2 separate regions of the Homo sapiens genome follow, and region 2 is linked to region 1. The links are contacts of gene promoters, found by promoter capture Hi-C in human tissues and cell types (Jung and others, 2019). All regions are on one chromosome and are shown on one strand. Each heading gives the region's core, a stretch centred on a gene start or on the middle of the fragment in contact. The rest is flanking DNA. Distances are from core to core; before and after follow the strand shown. Region 1 holds the start of MYOM2 (myomesin 2). Region 2 overlaps MYOM2 (myomesin 2).

The links. The method cuts DNA at HindIII sites, captures the fragments that hold promoters and counts their contacts. A contact is called where the count stands out against the background at its distance.
Region 2: a fragment that was not itself captured here is called in contact with the fragment with the promoter of MYOM2 in region 1 in 7 of the 25 tissues and cell types used here (H1 embryonic stem cells, bladder, heart left ventricle and 4 more).

Annotation. Positions count from the first base shown.
Region 1 is chr8:2,043,723-2,046,461 of GRCh38, reverse strand. MYOM2 (myomesin 2) reads right to left here and starts at 1,416. Exons shown (of 37, transcript NM_003970.4): 1 at 1,294-1,416. The HindIII fragment of the contact is 6,844 bases long and covers 1-2,739 here.
Region 2 is chr8:2,077,481-2,080,219 of GRCh38, reverse strand. It overlaps MYOM2 (myomesin 2), which reads right to left. Exons shown (of 37, transcript NM_003970.4): 12 at 1,287-1,486; 13 at 607-660. Among named protein-coding and RNA genes, the nearest start is that of MIR7160, 2.3 kb to the right of the region's middle. The HindIII fragment of the contact is 7,731 bases long and covers 1-2,739 here.

The DNA.
Region 1 (2,739 bases), core at 167-2,666:
ACGGCCGAACCCAGGCGCCAGCTGACTCTCCTGACAGCGTCCAGCCCACTTTCCACCACAGCCCAGCTCCCCGGCCACTCCCGGAATGCTCCTGACACGTTTAGGAATCATGACACCAGGATGAAACGCGAGCCTCTCCTCCAGTGCAGGGGACCACGTGTCTGATATCCCCATCCTAATTCCTTCCTGCAAACAACGTGTGGAGCCCATTCCTCATGTCACCAGGATGGGTTTTAATTTGCAAAAATGTTTGAAGTACAAAACATTGACTTCCACTTAATGAAGGAAATTGTTTGTACAGTTAAAAATGTCAAAGTCAATAAATACACCAAATTAAAGCTTTCTAGAGGGGAAAGGGACTCCCAGACACGCAGCGTTGGCCTGTGCCACAAGTGGCTAAGCCCTTGGCTCCCAAGACAAGTTTTAGCTTGGGACTTGGTTTATTAAATAACGCCTTAAATTATCTTTGTTCCACGCTTTCTTTGAGTCCTGTTTTACTTCTACTTAGTAAGAAAGGAATGTGAAATGGAGAATTAGAAAAGGCCAGGTGTTCCCAGTGATGGCAAACCCCTTCCTTCCGTTTGCCTCCGGTGCCTTCCACGTGCAACCACCCAGCCCCACTGTCTTTCTCCAGCAGGTTGCATTTCAAGAGCACGCCCTGAGAAGGCACAGCCTCTATCAGCGGAGTGGAGCTGAAGAAGTCTGAAGGGTCACAACACACCCAACAGCACAAAGAAGAAAACAGCCGTAAGAACGCTGTCATTTTTGGGCAAAAACTTGCAAGTCCTGACAAGGATTGTTCTCTTTCCCATACCGTGGATAATATAGGCTAGGTCTAAGCTGAATGACCCTCGACTCTTTTTTCCCTTAAGAAAATATCCAGTTTTATTATTTCACACCTTTATAAGTCAGCCCTCTCCTCGGGGGAGGCTTTCGTTTCTGAGAATCTCATGAAACTTGCAGACATCAGTCCACTGACTGGGGGGCCCCCTGGGGCCACGATGAGACCAGGGCTAAAACCCAAAGCACACGCCGCAGGGTGCTAAACGGCACTTAGCAAAGACCACGGCTGTGGGAAATAAAATGTTAGTTGAGCATAAAACCTCGTCAAAGAAATACAGATCCCAGAACTAATTGCTCTGTTTTCCACAGTAAAGGGTGCCTGCGACGGGGTGCACTGGCTCTCTCTTCTTGACCCTGAAGTAGAGGTACTTAGAAAATGTGAGTGCAGAAGTTACCGGTCCTCCCCTTAAAGCCACAAATTAGAAAAGGCAAGAAGAGAAAGACACTTACCCAGACAGAAAGGAAAATTGCAAGGAGGAGAGAGAATTCCTGACCACCGGCTCACCAAGCCACCCACACTCCAGCCGAGGAAGGCAGAGCTGACTCCTGCAAAGCAAGCGCCTGTGCCTCCCTCCCGTTTAAGGTCTGAGGAGCTACTATATATAGACGCCTGGGCCTGCCTCTCCCCACATCAATACCCACATCGTAAATCACCAGCCTGACCTCAGGAGGAAAAGCTTCTTGTTCAAACTGAGGGCGGGGGAAATCACGATTCAAAACTGGAACGTGTCCTTTCTGAGTCCCAAACTGCACTTTTCCCAGGAAACCGGGTGTGACACTTCAGCCCCCGACCCAGAAAGAGAGGGCAGGGCACTGACTTCCCACGCTCCCTCCCCGCAACTCTCCTCCATGAGTTCTAATCCTTACGTGTGAATTCTCAGACATATCTTCAATCCTTTCGAGCTACAGGTTCCCTGGCTCACAAATTGCAACTCCTGAATGAGTCTTTAATAATGACATGGATTTCAGTGAGCATTTGTGCCATTCGCAGGCCTGGACACCCGAGTTGAGGTCGGCTGTGGAGGGAGGGAGGTGCACAAGCCCCTGGGTTTGTGAGCGTGTGTGTGCATGTTCGTGTGTTTGTTCGTTTTTTTTTTTTTATTTCAAGAACGACTCAGGTCTTCACTCGATTGTATCTTAGGGCTATTTTAGCAAGAACTGCCTACCCAAAAGAGGAGCGGTGCCTAGTCGGCAAGTCGGGGCTTATTTATAGCCATTACCACAGACGTACACTGCGTCTACACCACACGGATAATTGCAGGGTGCCCGTCGTTTCGCACAGCGTGTGTCCAAATATAGATAACACACACCTGGCACGGTCCTGGGCTGCAGCCTGGCCAAGAGGCGGGGCCTCAAGGGGATGCCCCCATCTGAGGACCCGGAGAATCACACTCCAGCTGCACCTCACCACAGGGGCTGAGGACTTCGGCCAGCTGCTCAGCCCACGGGGGCTATGCTCCCCAGCTCTAAAACGCATGGAATAACAACTTTCCTGTAAGTTTGTTGTGACAAGTAGAGAAAATATGATAAGAGAATTGCCTTAAGAAACTCCACGTTCTCACACTGGGGTATCAGAGGCACAGCCAAGGACCAGCGAGCAGGTGGATGGAGGCGAAGATCAGATACGAGAAAGACGCGAGCACAGCCTCTTGCTGGGCCCCAGAGCGTTCTGGATGCTGGATCAGGAGGCGAGTGTTTCTGTCTTCTTCCCCTTCGTATTCTGATGGCCTAGCATTTAATTTAATTAGTGTTTGTTGAGTGATTTCTTAGTCTATTCAGGCTGCTTTAGCAAAACACCATAGACCGTGTAGCTTATAAAACACAGGAGCTTCTTTCCCACAGTTCTGGGGACTGGAAGTCCAAGATCCAGGTACCAGCAGACACTGCCTGGGGAGA
Region 2 (2,739 bases), core at 85-2,584, 34 kb before region 1:
TTCACCCATGGCACTCTATGAACTCTAAGTCCAGTTAAAACCTTTTGATTTCTAGTTAATAATGTTGGATTCTCCTTAACACGTCATTCTTTCTAAAGGTCTCTAAAAGGAAAATCAGGAAGAAGAAATATCCACAAAATCAAATATACATAAGGACCAAGAACATCATTTGGCAGGAAAGACTCAATCCATTTCAGTTAAAATGTCAGGAATAAAATTTTTGCTTAGAAAATGTAAAATGAAATCGATTTCACAATGCAATCTGTGAGAAAGGATCTTACATCACCCAGGAACCAAGTCTGAGCTTTAGTTTGGTTTCTTCTCTACAAGTCCCTGAAAGAACGCCTTTGTAAACCCCAAATGAAAGGTGAGTCTAAGAGTCACCAATCCTTCACCCTTTCTCCCACCCTCTCACTCTGTCTTGCTTGATTTTTTCTTTTTTTTAACTTCTATGGACACTGGGCTTGCAGGCCTGACCTGCGGTTTTCATTTTTCCATGCAGAGGCCGTGCCCAGTAGGGGGCGTTCTCTGTCCATCTCTCCCATCTCTAATTACAACTCCAAATCCCCAGGGGCTGAGCAGCTGGGGTGATGAGGTGCTACTTACCTTCAAGGTCATCCTGATAAATGGCAATCTCCTTCTCTCCCTCCAAATGAACGGCTGCGGAGAGAAAGGTTGACACTCGATTTGACATGCGAAGTTTTCCCCAAAAGCCCGTTTTCCCTCATTCTGTGCCAGCTCTGCATCTCCTCTGCATTAGGACTACAACCTGTGAGTCCTCTGGGGGCATCAGAGCTGATTCTGGAAGTGTCCTGGTAACAGTTAGCACTTCTCAGCTCTTGGTGGTGGATGCAAAGGACCATGTGCGTAAGGAAAATATAGTGGCTCGCTTACAACCATAACGAAGGGCCCAGTCCCATTAAGGAATCTGTGTCATGCAAAATTAAAACTCAGAATAGGATGGCCTTCTAAGTGTCATTATGTGTTGAAATTATATCACCAATGGAATAAAAAAAAGGTCTAATTCTGAGCCAATTTAACTGGATGCCAGCAAAGAGCTTTCTGGAGGAGAGGCACATTCATTTTAGAGTGTACGTCAGCCCGTTTTCATTCCTGTAGTGATGTTGGTGGAGATGTCAGAGAACGTTGTAACAGCCTGTGCTATGCTCTGCACACAGGGCATTCTCAGGGCTCACATCGAGTTGGGAGGGAAAGAGACAACAAATCACACACAAAACAGCCAAAGCTTCCTGGGCACAGTGGATACTTAGGCGTGAGCAGCTTACCTTGTAACCTTCTGAGGTCCAAGGGGTCAAGTGCAGCCACCGCATCAGAGACCCTGGAGGGTCGGCTGATGCCCGCACTGTTCACTGCCCTCACTCGGAATATGTAAGACCTTCCTTCAAAAAGCCCTGTGACCGGGTATTTGCAGATTTTCACCGGTGCATCATTGCACTGCACCCAATTATTCGTTCCTACTTCACATCTTCAAGTTAAAAAAAGAAAAACAACAGAGAATAGCAAATGTGGCAACCTACTAAATATACATAGGTATATGCATATATGCACACACTGATTATAACAGGACAATATCTCACGCCAGTAAAATCTTTGCTGCTAAGATATTGACTTGTATAGATAAACATTAGAAGACAGAGCTATTTAGAAAATGCAATATATATATTATATGTAATATCTATTATATATGTAATATATGCCCATGAATCTTAATAATTTATAGCTGAAGATCAATTTCTGTCATCAAACACATTTAGGCAAAAATCTCCTCAAAAAATTATTTTAGACGCATCCTGAACAGTTCTTGTTCCGACTTACGTGACATAGTCACGGCACCCCTAAGCTGCGGCTTGGCCCGTCTGAGGCCCAGGCTGGGGAAACAGGCTCAGCCCCCTCTGCCTCCAGCTCCCGTCCCACTCTGTGAGACCAAGGGCCCAGGTCCCTGGGAAAGCTGGCTTACAGTCTCCTAGAATAATGTTAGGACATTTCTTTCTAGAATGCCTCTCATGTGGAATTTAGAAGTCTTTTGAAAATATTAATTCCTGACCAGAAACCTGGAAATATAGGAAAGATTAACCTCTGTTTTTCACAGGTTGAAAAATGTAAGAAAAAAACCTTCACATGAAATTCCCAGGAGAAAAGAGCTAGTTCAGAAAATCAGTGTTGGGAGGGAGCACTTCAACCCCAGAGTGGTGCCTTCATCTGGGAAAGAACCAGCTCTCCTCCTAAGTATCCAGCACTTTTAATGAAAGCTGTCTGATCCACATGTCATGGGCTGTTTTAGCCGAAGAGAACAACAGGTCAAAACCAAAAGTCTGATGGGAAAACCTGCAACTTCAGGCAACAGCTGGCAAGTCGTAAGCCCAAAGGAAGGGCAGAGGAGGAGCTGCACCCCCCACTTCCAAATGCACCCTCATTCCCAAAGTGTTCCGTTGCTTTGAATTTCATGTTTGCGCTTTTTGTAATGAGGGGAGGAGCGTGGATTGTTAGCTGAGACAGTGCAGGAAATGGTTTTTGTCAACATGGCGGGAAAACTTATCAGCTGTCCCAGGAGAAAAGAAGATCGTTTTGAGGGTTTGTTTTTCTTGCTGTAGTTGCTTAATTCAAGGTAAGCCCGGAACAGCACTCCCTGCAGAACTGTCTCTAGCATATCAAAATATTAGTTTGATGGCACAGGTCTCAGCCAAACAAGTAGTTTTGTTGGAAGAGAAAAGAGAATTT